7 separate regions of the Homo sapiens genome follow, and regions 1, 3, 4, 5, 6 and 7 are each linked to region 2. Evidence: promoter capture Hi-C in 16 types of primary human blood cells and fetal thymus (Javierre and others, 2016). All regions are on one chromosome and are shown on one strand. The core of a region is centred on a gene start or on the middle of the fragment in contact, and the rest is flanking DNA. Distances in the headings are between cores, read along the strand shown. Region 1 overlaps LOC107985948 (a long non-coding RNA gene). Region 2 holds the start of NXPH2 (neurexophilin 2). Region 3 has its middle 130 kb from the start of HNMT. Region 4 has its middle 9.5 kb from the start of HNMT. Region 5 overlaps LOC101928273 (a long non-coding RNA gene). Region 6 has its middle 27 kb from the start of HNMT. Region 7 overlaps HNMT (histamine N-methyltransferase).

Region 1 (2,820 bases), core at 118-2,617, 760 kb after region 2:
TATCTGGGCAGGCTTGTACCTAGTTAAAAATTTGACACTCTATTACCATAGAAGGAAGGCAGAGGGGGCTAGTCTCTGCCACCTCACCTAATGACTCTGTCCAGCTGGAGCCACACTGGGCTCAATATTGCTGTTAAAAAGGCTTTTGTTATCAGATGCTCAGTAACTGAGGATATGTTTATACAAGGTCAAAATAATGGATCAGTTTACTGGGATTGTTCTCTCTTGCCCAAGAGACCAAGCCACAATCATACAGGAGTAGCCTCTTGAAGATAATGTATTTTGCCTCTTGAAGATAATATATTTTGCCTCTTGAAGATAATATATTTTGGGCCAAAGTTGATCAAGTCAAACAGGTACTATCTTTATGCTAGAGTCACCAGGTGAGATCCGTCCCTGGGAAATAGGATAAAAATTAAGAAGCTAGGAGATAATTCCTATATGAAACTTAAAGAGGAAGAAAAGGGACAGAGAGGCAATGAAGGTCAACATTATTAAAGACAGCAAGATGTAGTGGTTATGAACATGGTCCCTGGGGTTAATTCGTGTGTATTAGAATTCTGGCTCCACCAGATGTAAGAATGAGGTACACATTATATAATTTAATATATAATTTAAACCTCAGTTTCCTTCTTTGTGAAATTGGAATAGAAATTGTAACTAACTCACTCATAAGCTTGTTATGAGGATTAGGTTGTATAATGCCTATAAACACTTAACATGAGCACAACACGTAATAAGCCCTCAAGAAATGTTAACTATTATTAAAATGGGGTCTTTTAAATCCCTTATGGTCTGTTTTATTTAGCAAAGAATCTTCCTCCATGATTAACTCTTTTTCAAGCTGGAAACTATGAATTAGAATGGCCAAAGAAAACAGAGGGAAGCAGCCAAGCTGAAGAGCCAGTTTTTGCTCCACCATTCCTAGGACACACAGATGGGAAACTCATAAGTTGCCAACCTTGCCCAAACATATCCATCCCATGAGGCTTCTACTGGAGCAGTAAGCCCTGGCTAATTTCCTTGCCTGGGTAACTTATACAATGAAGAATAAGTCCAAACTCCTCTCCCAATCAGTCCTGGAGAAATAAAAGTAATTATAAACAAACCACAAGGAGGGTAATGCACCTTCCATTAAAGGCTATTGTGGGGTAGATGAAGTCTGTTGGGAAATGTGTGGCATGAGGCAGCAATATCTTGATAAATAAGCTAAGGCTGCAATGTGCTCCTGCTGATAATAAGCAGCATGGAGCAACTGCCTCTTCTACAAAACCCTGGGATTTATGTCCAGTCTGCCTGCATTGAAAACCAGAGAATTAACTCATGAAACCCATATATCAACACATGCAGAAAAAGGAATCACAGTATAGAAATGAAATTAGCATGAAATTAGTTAGCTGTAGAACATAAATAAAGGTACTGACACTTTTCTGCATCTTCTATAGCAAATGTCTTTGGAGAACTCACCAAGGTTGGACTATACCTCATGGCCCCTGTGATTTATTTCAACATTTTCTATCCTAAGCAGGTTGTTTGCAAAGTCCTTCAAGTATCATTAAGACAAGCCAGGAAACACAGATAATTCTTCAAGAGAAGAATATGATCATGGAAAGGCACTGCTTATACAGAGTATCCCCATGTGTCAGTGCAGCCTCCAGAACGGCGTCTTGCTGTATTTATTAATCCATTGCCACAGAGATTACTACAATCTGACTCAGAGCCCTAATTAATTTTTGGCACATTTAGAAATTGTGACTGTCGTTACCCAGGGAGCCCTTAAATCAACCCCCCTTTTACTGCAGTTGCCTTTTTATGGTGTATATCACACTGAGAAATGGATTACATGATCCTTAGCTTTAACTATCCTGCATTAGTTGATCATGTACTATGGATGTGTATTGCACAGTTTATGAATCATAGGGGAGCTAGGGTATGAATGACAGATAATTTAAACATGAAATTGGTGATGTCTGGGACCTGGTAGGAGGTGAGGCAGAGAAATACAGGCAAAAGTTAAGGCAATGGGATGGAAAAATCAGATATTTATGACAAGCTTAAAATGAACTTGTTACTGAAGTGTAGTATTTAGAAAGAGTACTATCTCATTATTCAAGGAGGTGATTTTTTCATAGTACTCTGATCCTCTGATTGCTTCTTCTTCCCTTTTATAATCAGGTCCCCTTCAATGTACAAGTGGATATTTGGGGGCAAAGGTGATTTAGTTCTATGAAGTCATACTCCGCATCTAAGATGAATGAAGATCACATATTTAACTTGCCCAATATGCAGACATACAGTGTGAGTCGGCCGGGCAGGTATAGGGTTTGGCTAACTTCCTGTTATCAACTTGCTTTGGGAGCTGGGTTAAATTATTCAGTGTATTAGTATCTCAGTTTCCTCACCTATGAAATAGGATAATAATAAATAATCTTTCTAATTCATGAGGTAACAACCAAATAAGATCTTCTATTTTGCTCTACCTAAGACATTTGGGAGGCAAGAAGCAGACACCCACAAGGATACCTGGAGTAAAATGGTATTTGTTCAGGTTAGACACAGATGGGAATAGAAACTGCAAGAACCCTTCCTTGAGACAGCCAAAGCTCATCTCCCATTCAAAGGCCATGTGGTCTTAGACTCCTGGCATCTCTCATTCTCTCTGCAAGTTGGTTCCATGCCTCACCTTCAAACCATGGCATCCCAGTGAGGTCCTCCCACATGTGGCCCACAGTGGCAACTCTAGACTTGAATCTATCTTAGGACCTTTCAGCTCAGCTACTATAGAAAGCCACCTCGCCTTCTTATTGTCCTTTAGATATG
Region 2 (2,700 bases), core at 177-2,676:
CTCCTTCATTTCTATTTTGGGGTGGGGGTGGTAAGCAGAGGAGAAGGAAACTTTTTTTTTTTTGTCCAAAAATTACAACTTAATCTGTGCTTTTTGTTGGGTTTATTTTTTAAAGCCTAGAAATCAATTGCAATTCTACTCCCTTGCTTCAACATGGTTTTCTTCTCTAAGAGCTTTGCGTTTCTAGATGTAAGAAGCATTCTCGCCTTGGGTATTCTGTCGGAGCAACTGCCTAAAGTCTCATCCTTGGAGAAGTGAATGTATCTCTCTGGACCTTAGGTTTCCCACCTGTTCAATAAAGGAGTGACGAATGACGCCCAAACTCTGATCTACCGTAAAAACAGTGCAGGTCTGTGAGCCCCATTGCCTTTGATTTTTCCACTCGAGTGTCCAGCACAAAGATAGTAAAAGGTTAAGGATCTCTCCAATGGCGAGTTGTTAACACGGAGGTCGAGGCTCACAGGCATCAGGTTTGCACCTTCGCCCGTCCGCAAAGATACCCCTCTCCAATATTTCTGAAGTCGGAGGCTGTGGTGGGGTATCCTGCCTTTATTCTGCTTCTCCAAAGCCCGGGCAGAAGGTCTGGGAGCAACTTTGTCTGTCTTCAGGACACCTAGCTGTCTATACCATCCCCAAACCGGAGTAAACCAGACATCACCTAGCTCCGTTTCTCACAGTTCTGCTCCTGGTCCCTCGAGGTCCCCATTACTCCCCAACCCCAGAAATCCTTCCAGCCGCACCAGGCGCACTTTGTACCCCTTACCCGCGGCTCTGCGAGCTTGGCGCTGCGGCAGAGTAGGGCACTCTCCCAGGGCGTCCTGGGCTCCAGCCTCACCTCCCCGCCCCAGCCTTTTCCGTTCGCAGCTCCCCACGCCCCGCCCCAGGACTCTGCAATCGCCTTCCCCTCCTAAACTCTCTGGGCGCTCTCCAGGCGGGCGCACTCTTTCTTGCAGCCACCCAGGGAGAACCTTTTCTTCCCCTCATCCCCAATCTCCCCAGCCAAAGCGAGAGCCAGTCAGTTGGCAGGGCGCTTGGCACAGTGGAGCCTCTCGGACCGGCCTTCTGCTGGGCGGGGGTGGGAGGAGGCACCCGGCCTCTCGGGGCTCTGGGGCACCGGCTGGCCAGGCGTGCTCAGCTCGGCCAGGCATCCGCCCGGCGGGATCGGATCTGGAGGGCAGCCTCGCACTGAACCCATCACCCAAGCGCCCGAGCCGCCGCCTCCCTCCCGCAGGCGCCCCACGCGCTCACCCCAAGCCCGGCCAAGCGGGAGAGTCCAAGGCGCGACTGAAGCCCCCCGCCGCGTGCCGGAGCTCGAGCTGCCCCGCAGGCTCTTTGCCGGCCCCCTCCGAGGAGGGGCGCGCGGGGGGCCGGGAGAGGCACCTCCGGTCCGCCCACCCTCCCCCTTCCCTGCCCGCCCACCCGGCCAGAGCTGCGCGGCACGGCGCAGCGCTCGGATTCCGGGAGGGAAGCGCCGCGCTGTGTCCCTGGCGTCCTCAGTCCTGCCCCGCGAAGTGGAGATGCGCGAGAGGCAGGCGAGGGCGCGCAGCTCGTGAAAAGCCGCGCCAGCCGGCACCATGCGCCTGCGGCCGCTGCCCCTCGTGGTGGTCCCTGGCTTGCTGCAGCTGGTGAGTGCCCGGCCCGCGCGCCGTCCCACACGCCGGGGACGCGTTTCGGCGGGAAAACCGCGCAGGCGGCTGACTTGGAGCCCAGCCTGGGCCTGCTTGGGAAGTGGGGTTGGGGGCGCGCGGAGGGCAAGGAGTTTTGGGTTGCCTTAGAGGTCGAAAGGGAAGAATTGAAGAACGGAATAGACGGGATCTACAGGCGACTCAGGGGCTTAGCACGGGTTGGGACTTGAGCGCTGGGGTAAAGTAGGCAGAAGGTGGCCGGGAAGTAGGTCCGGGAGAAGGAAGCGGTTTATTGATAAGCGGTCAAGGAGAGGAAGGAAAGTAAATTGATAGGATGAGAAGGGGCAGAAAGACCTTCCTCCTGTTCACAGTTTGAGAGGCTTGGTGGTGTTTATTTTTCACGTGGTGTTTTGCCCAGATGCACACAGACACTTCTCCCAAAGCACAGCATAGTGCATGCATCCTCGTTCTCAGAGCCAGGTAGTGGCGCCTTGCTGGGAGAAAACTTAGGCAAAATACGGATTTGGGGGACAGCTTGGATTTCTCTTCGTTTTCCGTCTGGCGCTAGGGACTGGGATGGGGCTTTCTGCCAGCTGGGGACACAAGATATAACTTTCATGCCCAGCTCCGCGCAGGAGCCCCCTCTCGGGCATCTCGAAGCTGTCTTTTCAGGGAGACCGCCCGCCTGGTCTGGGTGGCTCGGAGGCGCTGAGGAATAAGAAACGTATTAAAATGTGGTTTGGGGTTCGCGTTGTCACTCTCTTCTCTCTTCCCGCGAGGCGCCACGCTCTCCTCCTCCTGATATACGCCTATGTTCTATATGCATGGCTAATTATAGTTGAGGGAAAACCAAAGTAAGATCTTCAAGAAGAAACTTTTAAAGTAAAATTACAGAAGGGGAGTGCTTTGGCTGGGTCAGCATCTGTGATGGATTTCTTCTGGTCACTTAGCTCTTGCCTTGTTAGGGTGCTATTAAGAGGGCTTTCTCCTGATGCCATAGTTTCTTTGGTCCTCATACTTAAGACTTTGCCCAAGCACTTAGAAGATGACAGTCTCTTCTCTCTCGCTCGCTCTC
Region 3 (2,763 bases), core at 133-2,632, 940 kb after region 2:
AGGAGAAAAGGAGGAAATTCAGTCATGTTAAGGCAGTCAACTTAGAGGGCCAGGACTGTTCTAGATGGACTCCCGGGCTAGAAAGAGCATGGACTCTATGTGTCTCAGCTCCTCTAATTCCTATCTATGAGATCCTGGCAAGTTGCTTAACATCACAAGGCCTCAGTGTTCACATTTATATAATGGGTGTGAATGTTATTTTTCTTACAAGGGAAAGAAAAATGAAGTAAAACGGAGTAATATTATTAAAATACTTAAGATTTAATAAGCAGTCGATTATTAATAGCTCTGTGTCTCCTTTGGGTAGGGAAAAATAATACAATTTAGATTTTAGGTCCTAAACTAATCTCCAGGTATGGTTGTGAGGAAATTATGGGTCTTGAAAAGTAAAGAGAGAAGATTTATTCTTTACTCTGCTTCAATGTGGCTAAAGCTTCCCTGCAAAGTGTCACAATAACCTTCTCTTCATGTTCTCAAATGCAGTTGCTCCCCTCCCCATCTCTCCTTGACACGTGAAGTTCCTCTCCTATGAGGAGCATTGCCAAGTTTCGAGAGGTCTGCAATGTTGGACTAACAGTCATGGCCTTCGCACAGGCAGGAGGTCACAGCAGGGACTCCAGTGCTCACCACTTCCCTCTTCCTACATCTGCCTTTAGTTTATGAATGCATGAGAATTTCATAGTGAGTTAATGGAAGCCCTCCCAAAATATGTCCACATAGAACCCGTGAATGTGACCTAATTTAGAAAAGAAAACAAAAGGTATTTGAAGACGTAATGAAGTTAAGAATCCTGAGATGAGCTCATCCTGTATTATCCAGGTGAGTTCTAAATCCAATGGCCAGTGTCCTTAGAAAGGCACAGGGAGATGTGTGACAGAGAGGATTCGGCCATATGAAGACAGGGGCAGAGATTGCAGTGGCGTGATCACAAACCCAGGAACACCCGAGCCGCCAGAAGCCTGAAGAGGCAGGGAAGGATTCCCCTCTAGAGCTTCTGGGAGGTGCGTGGTTCTGCCAACACCCTAATTTCAGAATCCTGTATGCCACAACTCTAAGTAAATATTATAAATTCTTATCATGCTAAGCTACCAAATTTGTGGCCTTTTGAAATGGTAACTCTAGGAAACTAGTACAGGTTTATATCAAGAAAATTCCTGTCCCCATGTATTTTTCCAGTGTGCTAGAAATTCCATGATTAGCAAATTTATTCCTTTGGTTTAAATTGCAGATTCTTTTAAAATAAAATACATGAGATCCTGGGAAAGGTGTCCTATTTTAGAGAATGAATGTTCACACCACAGCCTCTGTGAATGGATGGCTCATATCTACAGAAAAGCACTGGATACTAGGAAGGAAACAATTCTAAAGGGTTGTAGGGTTGTAGGGCACTGGCTCTAGCAGACCAGCTTGCCTTGCTGCAAGACAACTTGTCTGGCGTTTGACCCAGAGGTTCCTCATTACTTCAATGGTCTTCAATGAAAGAAGCCAAAGTTTGGAGAAACCCCAAAGAGTATTGCCTTTAGACCCATCTAAGACCCCACACTGGACTAATTTCTGGAGGCCCCTTGCCATCGAGGATGTGCCCATGGGGCCAGTGGAACATGTCCCCAGAATTAGCATCTTCCCCTCCCAGCCAGTGATACAGGTGGTGCCCAGATCCCAGAATTATTCACCCACATGGCCTCCCAGCCCTTCCCCAAGTCCCCTACAGGCTTTTTCTCTAGACCTGCCCTCTCTGGGGTGGCTAGCATTATACTGTGCACACTCCTAGGCTGGGGGTGGTGAATGTGTGAGGCCCTTCGCAGGAGAGAATGGAGCCGACAGGTGGCTTGCTGGGCTCCAGGACCCTTCTCTTCTGGCACCTCCAGGTTCTGGCTGAGGAATTTGATCATTCTGAACTGAAATGTAGCCTCTCTGGTCTTTTTTGTATATTTGTCAAGGTAGGAGGATTAAACATATTTAATTAAATGATTAGTTAACTTGGCTTATAAATTAAAATATTTAGACAAGTGGAATGTGGGCCTTACATTTGCATCCTTTCCTTGGGACCAGCCAAACATGAGGTGGCCCTGCCTCTGAGATAGGCAACGCTGTAGGAGCACTCTGCAAGTTGGAGTAGTGTGTGAACGGCAGTCCATAAAAGGCAGGACATAAAAGCAGAATCTCAGTGCTGGAGGTGCCCACAAGGAAAAAAAAAAAAAAAACCCACAAAAGGAATTGGTAGTAAAACCCAAGCATCACACCAACACCAAGCACGGAAATGACTACATCACAGACAGCAGACACCAGGTCCCCCATCTCCTGGCTATTCGACTTTAGAAAAGAAGCTTAAAGTCTTGAACTGAAATTCTTAAAATATAAAATCAGGATGATTAAATATATGTCAAAGAGTTATTATGGGAATTCAGAAAGCAGTAAATCAAAGTCATTACTTTAAAACAAGGACACATACTTCAGATACTAAATGCAGCGTAAATTGTAACTATCCTTGTTACAGCTATTGACAATGTATCACATGGAATTGCTGGGACTGGGGAGAGTGAGTCTTGGGATGAGAAGCAACATTGAGATGGACACCTCCCTCAAAAGCATCAGATGTCTCAGTAAGAGAGGCAAGCTCTGATCTCCCAAATTGAGTTTTGTATGGACATATACCTACTTATGGGTGGAAATATAATAATGAAGCACAACTAGTTGGGAACAGCTGTTTTAAACATTCTAAGAAAAGATTGCTTGTCTGGTCTGCCCACTTAAGGGCTCCAG
Region 4 (2,735 bases), core at 125-2,624, 830 kb after region 2:
GAAAAAAAAGCATAAAGCAAAATACCTAGAATGTATTAAGTACTCACTGAATGCCAGATAAAATAGTGAAAACAAAAGGTGTCTATTGTGATAGCTACAGGTCAATGAGAGCTAGTACTCATGAACTCTTAAAGAAGACTGACTTTGTTTGATGAGGGTATTTGGCTGAAAACTATTTCTTGGGAATGTATCAGGGTTTTGGGAAACTCATCAGCGGGCACCTGATAATGGGAGGTCATTAGGAGTCCCATGATGATGGGATTCCTTTTCAGATCTGAGAATTTCAGAGCTGTCTGTCCCTTTCTCCTCCTGTGCTCGCTGGGGGTCAGAAGATGGACTAATGGGCGACTCCCGCTCCTGCTTCTCTCCATGTTACACTGCTTACTAACTCCCTGTGTGACTTTGAGCAAGCACTTAATTCAGTTGCCTTGAATTTCTTCAGATGTAGAGAACTAGATGCCATCATTCATTTCCAGTTCTAAAATTCTAAGACTACTTGAGTTTACACCTGTTAATCAGAGACACGGCTCATATTTCAGGCTTGAATTAGGATGCCATTTGTAAGACATTTGGCACTCGATGTGTCTCATTCTCTGACTCTTTGGTGCTCCTCCTTCCCTAATACAAATTCAAAGCTACTTTGCATTTCTAAGCATAGATTATACCATTGTGATGCACTAACAATTTGGAAAACATAAGGGGATCAAAGTAATTACCCATATGTTCTCAGGCAGTAGAAAATAATTAAAGTCTGTTTATAAATATGGCTAATTAAAAACAAAATGCATATGAATTCAATGTTTATTTTATTATTTCCTACATAGGACTCTAAGAGTTGTTGTTGTTGTTGTTGTTGTCTTTAAAGACAGGGTCTCACTCAGTCACCCAGGCTGGAGTACAGTGGCACAATCACCACACACTGCAGCCTTGAACTCCTGGGCTCAAGCAATCCCCTTGCCTAAGCCTCCCAAGTATCTAGGACTACAGGCATAAGACACCATGCCTGGCTACTTTAAGTTTTTTTTTTTTTTTTTTTTGTAGCATTGGGAAGTCTCACTCTGTTGCCCAGTCTGGTCTTGAACTCCTGGCCTCAAGCAATCCTCCTGCGTCGGCCTCCCAAAGCAGTTGTTTTTAAATATAGTCAATGCCTATAGAAGAAGTAGCTCCCAGGATGTTGTATAATCAGACATTATACATGGGGTGTCAGTCAGCTCAAGTAGCTCAGAGATGATCTCTGGTAAAATACATTCCAGAGTTATCAATTTGGCACACATTTTGTGCCATCAACTGAAATTTGTAGTTAATAAACACATGGTTAAAAACAGAGGCATAATGTTCCCAAAAGTGTATTTAAAGACTCTCTGCTCTACTACTCCAAATTAATACTTCCACTGGTCCAGTTCTAGCAGCAGTGAAATGCAGATTGGGTCAAAGATGGTGAAGGTTTATGGAGATTAACTCAATAATTTTTGAAAATTTGCTATTTGATAATTCTGAATTGATCTGTAGATGATCTTGTCTCCAAAACTCCATACTACTAAAACAAACAAAAAAGGAAGTAAAGACAATTTTTAAAAGTACAGTGATTTTTGCCTCTCACAAGTGTATGTTCTGTTTTATACTGTGTTTCTAGTTATGGTGCCTAATGAAATGCTGGTTGAAATTGTGACAGGCCAGGTCTCACTAATGCAGGCCTCCATAACAACTGTTTCAGTACTGACTGAGTGGTTAAGTTAAATATTAAAAGTCAGTACCCTTATATAAAGGCTGGAATGTAACAAATGCCCACCAAGAGTTTTGCTTAGGCCTTTCCTGGGCCTTAAAACATGACAAAATAACAAAGGAACTCTTAACAGAACCTATTCAGGATTAAACAAGTTTTACTGTGGGTCTGAAGCAACTCCCCAGGCCTCCACAAACAAGTTTATTGGAGGTCTGTGGGAACTCCCCAAACCTCCATGATTTAGCAGGAGACAAGATAAGGGTAATCACCCCAGCACCTGGACCCATTTACATGAAGTAAATTTACTGAGGCTCCAGAGGAAGGTCTTCAGGACTTAGGCCTTAGTTACGGATTAAAAGAAGTTATTCACTTACAACATTAGATGAATGCACACTTACATGTAGACATATAGCTTAGAAGGTATATAAGCTCTGAAAAACTTTGTAATTTTGAGTTGGTCTGGTGATCCAGGCCTTCTCCCTGTGACTGGTTACAGAAATAAAAACTCTGTTTCTCCCCAATTCATCTGCATCTTGTTATTGGCGCGCAAGGGATAGCTGCCCGACCCTCAGTTTGGACCAGGAACAAAATGTCAAAGTTGATTAAAACTTTTCACAGTACATATTTGGTCTTTTACTAGTCAGATAAACAGTGAAAAGCTCATGTTTTTCATAATATTGCTGCTAGAATCATTTTTCTAAGTTTCATTTTTATCACCTTTTTATCTCTAGTCAGGATAGGAAATTAATGCATATTGGAATTGAATTTGTTTGGGGAATTCGTTTTGTTTAATTTGTTTTAAAATACTAACTGCAATCCAGTATTGAAAGGAGATATAGCTCAAACTTCTTAATAGCCATATCCAGGGAGACTTCCATAGTGAAAATGTGAGCCGAAAGTAGATATTGATGATATTCAAGAAAATAATTTCAGTAAATTTGGAATGAGCCAAAATTATGTATGAAAACTCAACTTGAAATTAGAATTCAAAGCAAGATCCCCATGAATAGAG
Region 5 (2,717 bases), core at 57-2,556, 900 kb after region 2:
TATGATAAAAGTGTGGGAGGCTGCAGTTGAATATGGCTTTAGTTCTCATTTTGAACATCAATGTAACAGCCACGGTAGATTAACGGCTTCCCTACTTTCTTTTTTTTAAAGCATTACTGATTACATTTCTCATATTTTTCTTTCACATCTCTTACATCTTATTCCATGAAATAAGTACATTTCTTTTCCTGCCCTTTCTTCCTGTTTAATGTTTATTCACACTTCAAAATGCATGTAAAATGTTAGCTTCATCAGCACTCACAGTTATAACTTTTTCCTCCTCTTCCAATATATAGCTAATTATATACAATCTTACTATAGAATTTATTATGTTATTGCAATCTGATTGTTAAATAAACTAGATTTAGTGAGATGAAAGCAGAAAACATAGCTACTCTCTTTATCCACTAACTTTCAAATTCCCACACCCAGAGGTTAGTTTCAGATCATAGAATTTGTCATTGTGTTCAGGTACTGAGTATTTCACCTTTAAGTAATACAAAAGCAGCATTATCTGACACTGTTTTAAAACTATATTTGGAAATACCAAGAATTTAATAGCCAAGATAACTTTGAAAGAGAACAAAGTTTGAGGATTTACATGATTAAATATCAAAACTTACTATAAAGCTAAAGTACATCAAACAGTAAGGTGTTAGAACAAGCATGGACACACAGAATAATAAAACAGAAAACAGATCAGAAACAGACGTTTCTATATATAGTCACCTGATTTTTGACAAAAGAACTACTACAATTTAGTGTGTAGAATGGCCTTTTCAATAAAAGGTGCTGGATCAACTGGATATCTATGAGGAAAAATTTATTTTGACCCCTCCTCATACCCTATACAAAAGCGAGTCTGTGATTTGCAAAAATCACATCAACTAGATCTGAGACCTTGGTGAGAAATGTAAAATCATGTAGCCTCTTAAAAGAGAACATAGGACATTATTTTTATAACATTGGGATAGGCAACGATTTTCCAAACTGTACACAACTATAACTATAATTGATAAATTAAACTTTCCTAAAATTCACAATTTCTGCTCATCAAAAGACACCCATTTAGAGAGTGAAAATCTCAAGCACACACTGGGGAAAATTACTATATATATAACTAAGGATTTGTGTCCTGAATATATAAAAAGAAGCTCCTCAATAAAAATGGTCAAAGTGGTCAAAAGACTAGAAAAGGAACTTCACACACACACACTCACACACACACACACACGGTCAATACGACATCATTACTTATTGGGGAAATGCAATGAGACACCACTACACAATGACTCAAACTTAAAAGACTATTCAATGTAAAATTTAATATGTGAGGAAGTGGAGCACCTGGAACTCTCATACACTGCTGACTACAGTATAAAGTTTTACATGAACCTAGGAAAATTGTTTAGCAGGATCTACTTGTTTCAGTGTTCACTGGGTGGTCAGGTTGTGCTGCAGGATAGACTATCACAAGAATGTGGTCAAATGTGGTCAAGGTTAACAGGGGAAGAAGCGCCGCCCAGGGGAGAGACCAGTGCATGATTTGAGGTCACTGAGAGCAGACAAGACGCCTAGCAGGCTCAAGTGGTACAGTGTTTACTTACACCAAAATGAGAGAGAGAGTGTTTACAAGATCCAGTCCCTTGAAACGTGCCAGTCCCCCATAGGCAGCAGATCCACTCCAAAGCCAAGGTGGGCAGTATGGCTGCAGGCATCCCACTTTATGCTGCAGTAAAAGAATCCCCTCCCCAAAACCCACCTTTCCCATTCCCTCCCGCAGCTGTGGGATCTGAAATACGAAAAGCTGGGGAGAACCATTCATACATTCACTTAATCAGAACAAAGGAGTGCACACACTGACTCAGAAGCAGGGAAAGATAGTCCCACACAAGGTGACAAGCCCAGGTCAAGCTGCGAGGACTCTATCTCTTGATAAGGAAGTGTTCCAGGCCCAAGCCCATTCTTACGTAGCTGAGTGGGGGTGAGTATGAGACTGCCTTTCCCTACATTACGAATGTTCAATGTGGTCTTCTGTGACCCAGCAAGTCCACTCCTATGCACTTTACCCGTGAGAAGCACACATACAAATATGTTCATAGTAGTTTAATCCCTAATAGTCAAAGCCTAAAAACAATCCATCCATCACTAATGGAATGGATAAGCCAGTGGTGATACATTCCCACCACGGGGAGCTATACAGCAGTAAAAATACACTGCCGACCACACGACCCTCAGCATGACACCCACAGACATAATGTAGGGGGAAAGAAGCCAGCCACAAAAGATTTCATAATGCATAATTCCGTTTATGGAGAGCTCAAGAAGAGTTAGCCATCTAAAGTGATAGAAGTCAGGTTATTGTTTGTTTCCTGAGAAGTTCTGGCTAGGGTTTACATGGGTGGAGATAAGAAAAAAGTCATCCAGCTGTACATTTAGAATTCTTGACTTATGCATTGTATGTTTGCAAAAAAAAGGAAAAAAGTGCAACCTAGTCTAAAATAACTTCATTTCCAGCTCCCCGTCCCACTCCCAGGCTTGATTCGAGGCTCTCCAGGCTTGCAGAGGAGTAGGGAGTAGCACATCCACTTTTCTTCTTTCTTTATTCCAGTCTTACCTGCTTTCTAGCTGACCTTAAGGTCAGGCACAGGAGTGAGAGAGGATTTGAAGAAAAGGCCAGATCTTTCTGGACTGGGGCTTCTGTGAAAAATTCCCAA
Region 6 (2,714 bases), core at 51-2,550, 840 kb after region 2:
ATCTGCACCTGTTTGGAGGAGATATGGTGCAGAGCTCTCAGGAAGGACTGAGCCAGTTAATAAATTTGCAGCCCCTTTTCACCTTGTCACCATCTCGCTCTCTACAGCAGTATCTGTGGCCTCTATCACACATTTTGCTTCTCTTATTTTCTTTATACTCTTATCCAGTTCAGCTTTGTTTGTCGGCTCTTATGCAACCTACACAAGTGGAATTCTCCTTGGACTCTTTTGTCTCCAACATAAATTGAAAAACCACAACTTTGGCAATGGCTGTGGGACACATTTCAGTGCACTCATATCTCAACCAACGGAGTCAAAGGGATCAACTTGTTTTTACTGACAACCTAAAGACAAAGGCTCTTCAGGGCTATGAGAAAAGCTTACTTTGAAAGTGCGGTAAAGGGGATTTTAAAGAAGAAAACAAATGGCAATTGAATTTTACTGTTTCCAGGAAACAAAAAATTAGAATTTTAGACTCTTAAACTCAGATTGCTGGAAAAATAATTGGACCTTTATTTGTTTGCTTTAGAGAAGAGAGAGAGAAAAAAAATCCCTTAATTGTCCTGCGAGAATTAACTGCAGATGGAGAGTAGGTTCTTAGGAATTTCTCACAAGGGAATCAATGGCACATCCTGCCCACCCTGTCCCCAAGCTAGATCAGCAGATTCCTGGCCAGGAGCCCACAATTATCACGTGACTTCAGTGGCACCAGCAGCTCCCCTACATACCTGACCCAACCAATAGCTCATGCTGAGAATGGTGCCTGAGAGGCCCCAGTGAACTGGCAGGGTGGCATGGGGCTTTCTTGCTAGAGAAAGAAACCTGCCCAAACCATGACTTTGCAGTGTGCTCAAGGTTTACATGGGGTTTTCTGGAAAGATAGTGGCGGGGGTGAAAGCCACGTATCTGTTCTTTGCCATTGCCTTTTCCTAGGGCCTTAGTTCTCTTGCTCTTCATTCTTACCAAGACAGAAAATATTGAGCAGTCACAGGAACTCTTTTCTTGTATGTGCAGAGATATCATGCACAAATCTGGTGACTCTGAATGTACAGTGGGAGGGCCTCAAGAGCGCTCATGCGTTCAAGGTGGAAAAAGCCCCTCACTACTCACTGTACATCCATCCTCAAACTGGCACACGTTGGCTCTTCCCTCATCCTCTAGAGCTAAAACATAAGCCGAAGGTGGCCCTACACTCCTTCTTCTTTATAGGAACACATTGCTCATGAACTTCTGAGTCACAGCCCCATAGGCAAACATAGGTGAGAAAAGTTTGGGGAAAGAACTTGAAAGTAGCATGCACTAGAGAACACTCTGGAAGAGCTAAGAAAAGGTGCACTTTTTTTCCCTCTTATGTCTAGGAGGTCCAACAACTGTGAGGAAGATTCAATAGGACTATTCAATAGCTAGTTATTCACAAAATTTATTTCCTTCCACACTGTAGACAGCTTTTCCCAATCTCCCTTGCAGTTAGGAAGAATGCAACTGCATTCAGCCAGTGGGAAGTGGGCAGAAGTGATTACTGACCTTGGCCACTTACCCTCATGTCTACAATTCTTTCTCTTCACTTGCTGCTGAATATTGACACTCAGGGAGATCCTAGAAGCTCCGTGCTGAAAATGGTGGATCCTCTTTCAGCCTGGATCTCTGAAAGACTACGTACCCTTCTCTCCTCCTTATAAGTAGAAGAAAGACCAGAGCATGCTCTCTCTCCCCCAGCCTAGCAGTGAGAGCACAGAGGAAAGAAGATGTGAGGGCACAGTGAGAAGGAGGCCATCTGTGAGCAAGGAAAAGAGCCCTCACTAGACAACAACCCTGACAACATCTTAGTCTTGAATTTCTAGCCTCCAGAACTGTGATTTTAAAATGTTTTGTTGTTTAAGCCAAACAGTCTGTGGTATTTTGTTATGGCAGCCTGAGCAGACTAAAACAACCATAGATGCCACTCTCGCCCCAATCCTTGTTGCAGATTGAATTTTACATGATGAAAAATAAATGCCTTTTTTTTATTAAGCCACCGAGATGTCAGGCTTTATGTCTTACAACAGCTAGTGTTTACATTTCTGATACAAAGACTGCGCAGAGCTAATCAAGTGTGTGATATCCCTTTTCTCAAAATGTACAGGCTGGATTTTTTTTTTTTTTTTTTTTTTTTGAGACGGAGTCTTGCTCTGTCTTCCAGGCTGGAGTGCAGTGGCGCAATCTCAGCTCACTGCAAGCTTTACCTCCCGGGTTTGCGCCATTCTCCTGCCTCAGTCTCCCGAGTAGCTGGGACTACAGGCGCCTGCCACCATGCCCGGCTAATTTTTTGTATTTTTAGTAGAGATGGGGTTTCACCTTGTTAGCCAGGATGGTCTCCATCTCCTGAACTCGTGATGTGACCCCCTTGGCCTCCCGAAGTGCTGGGATTACAGGCGTGAGCCACCGTGCCCGGCCCAGGCTGGATTTTTACATGAAAACTCTGCCTTAGTGCAAAAGATTCCTTGGGTCAACACTCAAGATTATTACAAAAAAAAAAAAAAAAGCTGACTAATACTTCATTAACAGATATTTAAAAAATAAGAGTACTTATTTAAGCCAGCTAATTTTTCAAACATTTTATGACTCTCAGCTTATTTCATTCTCATAGAAATCTATGAGGTATAATTCTTATTATCCCTGTTTTATAGATGAAGACACTGAAATAGCTATTGCAAAATTATAACTGAGAAAGAGAT
Region 7 (2,700 bases), core at 98-2,597, 800 kb after region 2:
TTCTATTTTACCTGTTTAAGCCCATTGCTGCATTCTTATTAATTATAAGGCTTTAGAACTAAGTTTATTTGCTTTTGTAAGTATACAGTCATTTAATCTGCAATGATAGTTTTGTCCTCACTTGGTTCATTATCCCTTGTTTTGCTGTTTCTAACCTTATTGAATTAGCCAAAACAATCTTGTTTACTCTGCTTTTAATGACAATCACTCCAGTGTTCTAACACTATGCTCCCTTCTCTTGAATCTGTAACTTATCTGTCTTTAACAATAGCTCAATGCTCACTGAAAGTTTTAAATACAATACAATGGGGTAAGCTATTTTGGTAAAATTATTTATGAAGAATACTTTATTTTTTAATCATATATTTAACAAATGCCTTTAATAAAATGATGCCCCAAACTATAACTGTGTTTATGTAAAGTAGTTCTAAATCTTGTAGATTAGTTTATGATTATAATCTATATCCTTCTGGTAAAGGAGTTAACTGCTATGATGCTGCATATAAGTACTAGTTTTTACTCATTTTTAGTTATAAGCAATTAAAATCCATTCCCAAAGTTGTCTGCAGGTCTAGAAACCCCATTAGAATACCGCTTCCTCAATACAGCAAACATGGTAATAGCCACACTACTCCGAAAAATATTCCTACCTCTTTTCTAGAAGGTGACTCATAAAACAAGATTTCAAGACTGAAAGCACGTTTGATGGCCCAAACACACAAGAAAATCAGTGCCTAAGTCCCTTCCATAACATATCTGTAAAGTATTTCTCCAACCTGTGCTGACACCACTAGAATGACTTTTTATCTCCCAAGGAGTGGAAGTTATTTTCTATTTATAGACAGGTTTTTTTTTTTTTGTTTTTTGTTTTTTTGAGATGGAGTCTTGCTCTGTCCCCCAGGCTGGAGTGCAATGGCCCGATCTCGGCTCACTGCAACCTCCTCCTCCCAGGTTCAAGAGATTCTCCTGCATCAGCCTCCCGAGTAGCTGGGATTGCAGGTGTGTGCCACCATGCCCAGCTAATTTTTGTGTTTTTAGAAAAGCCGGGTTTCACTATGTTGGCCAGGCTGGTCTCAAACTCCTGACCTCAGGTGATCGGCCCCAGTTGGCCTCCCAAAGTACTGGGATTACAGGCGTGAGCCACCAGGCCCAGCCAACAGGCTCTTACACTGAGCCAAGAAATCACTCTCTGAAGCTTTCAACCATTGGCGCTTTGAGGGCAAATATTCTATTGTTTGCCCATCAGAAAATATACGAAAATGGCAATAAGCACAATCAAATTCTTTTTTCCAAGCAAAAAATACCTCAATTCCCTGTATTTTCTCACACATTTTAAGTTTGTTGATCTGTACTGTTGGCTTACTATGGATCATTGGTAAACATTAACCTTTGCTTCCTGCCACCTCCTAGTTTCTAAACCTGACACACTGGATCTTCCAGTTCCTACTTGAATTACATTCATTCTACTGCCATCCAATCAGCTTAAAGTATTAAGCTTCTGTGTTACCTTAACATGTTATTTATGAAAGGAGACAAGGTTAATAATCTGATAAGGTTAGATTTTCAAATAGCTAGTCATTGCTAAGTACCTAATCTCTCCTGTGAAAGGAAAATAAAATCCTGGGACTCCAAACTCACTATGTTAAAAGGAAGAGTTACACTTGAGAACTGGGTCACACAAAAACTGCCTTCCCTTTTGTACCTAAACAGATAGGTGCAATGACAGAAGGCCACTATTTCTCCATGTGGCCCCCCTCCTTTTACATATAACATGTGGATTCAGTGAGTACTGATCAAACCCTCACAAGAAAGTGACCACTTACCTTACTCCCTACCCTCCCTATTTTTTTCTTTCCTCCTTCTCTCCTGCTGCTCTTCCCCCTTTAAATATTGAAGCCTTCAAACACCTCTTTGGAAAAAGCACAGATCACAGATGCTACTGCAACCTAGGTCTCTTTTTCTCAGTTGCATCCTCAACCTTGGTAAAATAAACCTCTAAATTGATTGAGAGCTGTCTCAGACACTTTCTCCCTTACCAGGTTAAGAATTAACTATTAAATCTGTTTAGTACAATTTGTTGGACTGGACTAAAGTCAAGAGATCTGGGTTTTCTTCTGCCTTGATGGTCCCCAGGTTTCTTATTTGTGAAGTGAGAGTGTTGATGGTCTGTAAATTTTCTTCTAGGTTTTAACCTCTGTAGAAATGCTGGTGTCTATATGCTGCAGAACAGGAGACCCATCAAACTGGTCTCAACATATGTCAGAAAAATTATTACAAAAAATATTATGAGGGTTGATAACACCTGTATTTCATATATGAGTTGCTTGAGTGGGTTAAAAAATTTATCTATAAATGTATATACAATTATTGGTATAGCAATGGTATAGTGGTTGAGTTAATATACAATAGGTTAATGAAAATAGAAGTAGGAAGCTGGATTAAATGTGATTATTTGAGTTACAGCTCTGTCTAACTCTTAAAAAACTTTCTGGCATTTGAACATAAGAACCAAACACTGGGACAGATAAAATGATTATCCTTTAAGCAGAGCCCAGAGCAAGGAGAACACATTGGCCGTGACTGCTTTCTGGAACATGTTTTCAGGTATAAATATATGCACTGTAAATTAATAGCATTCTCTCTTACCAAAAAGAATATGGGTTTCTTTTTTCCCACGTACCATCTAGCATGAAGACAACA

The links. The method cuts DNA at HindIII sites, captures the fragments that hold promoters and counts their contacts. A CHiCAGO score of 5 or more calls a contact.
Region 1: a contact is called between a fragment that was not itself captured here and the fragment with the promoter of NXPH2 in region 2, in 2 of 17 cell types (naive B cells and total B cells). The highest score is 5.6, in naive B cells.
Region 3: a contact is called between a fragment that was not itself captured here and the fragment with the promoter of NXPH2 in region 2, in 1 of 17 cell types (naive CD8 T cells). The highest score is 5.4, in naive CD8 T cells.
Region 4: a contact is called between a fragment that was not itself captured here and the fragment with the promoter of NXPH2 in region 2, in 8 of 17 cell types (total B cells, naive CD8 T cells, naive B cells and 5 more). The highest score is 13.0, in total B cells.
Region 5: a fragment that was not itself captured here is called in contact with the fragment with the promoter of NXPH2 in region 2 in 2 of 17 cell types (naive CD8 T cells and total B cells); the score reaches 5.2 in naive CD8 T cells.
Region 6: a fragment that was not itself captured here is called in contact with the fragment with the promoter of NXPH2 in region 2 in 2 of 17 cell types (total B cells and megakaryocytes); the score reaches 7.6 in total B cells.
Region 7: a fragment that was not itself captured here is called in contact with the fragment with the promoter of NXPH2 in region 2 in 2 of 17 cell types (total CD4 T cells and naive CD8 T cells); the score reaches 5.4 in total CD4 T cells.

What each region holds. Positions count from the first base shown.
Region 1 is chr2:138,017,869-138,020,688 of GRCh38, reverse strand. The region is part of intron 2 of LOC107985948 (a long non-coding RNA gene); the gene reads left to right. Among named protein-coding and RNA genes, the nearest start is that of HNMT, 55 kb to the right of the region's middle. The HindIII fragment of the contact is 1,377 bases long and covers 679-2,055 here.
Region 2 is chr2:138,779,116-138,781,815 of GRCh38, reverse strand. It overlaps NXPH2 (neurexophilin 2), which reads left to right and starts at 1,426. Exons shown (of 2, transcript NM_007226.3): 1 at 1,426-1,625. The coding sequence starts at 1,575. The HindIII fragment of the contact is 12,898 bases long and covers 1-2,700 here.
Region 3 is chr2:137,835,826-137,838,588 of GRCh38, reverse strand. No RefSeq gene overlaps it. Among named protein-coding and RNA genes, the nearest start is that of HNMT, 130 kb to the left of the region's middle. The HindIII fragment of the contact is 1,894 bases long and covers 436-2,329 here.
Region 4 is chr2:137,953,605-137,956,339 of GRCh38, reverse strand. No RefSeq gene overlaps it. Among named protein-coding and RNA genes, the nearest start is that of HNMT, 9.5 kb to the left of the region's middle. The HindIII fragment of the contact is 4,517 bases long and covers 1-2,735 here.
Region 5 is chr2:137,880,735-137,883,451 of GRCh38, reverse strand. All of the region lies in intron 2 of LOC101928273 (a long non-coding RNA gene), which reads left to right. Among named protein-coding and RNA genes, the nearest start is that of HNMT, 82 kb to the left of the region's middle. The HindIII fragment of the contact is 9,603 bases long and covers 1-2,717 here.
Region 6 is chr2:137,935,955-137,938,668 of GRCh38, reverse strand. No RefSeq gene overlaps it. Among named protein-coding and RNA genes, the nearest start is that of HNMT, 27 kb to the left of the region's middle. The HindIII fragment of the contact is 1,837 bases long and covers 382-2,218 here.
Region 7 is chr2:137,974,440-137,977,139 of GRCh38, reverse strand. The region is part of intron 2 of HNMT (histamine N-methyltransferase); the gene reads right to left. Among named protein-coding and RNA genes, the nearest start is that of HNMT, 11 kb to the right of the region's middle. The HindIII fragment of the contact is 300 bases long and covers 1,198-1,497 here.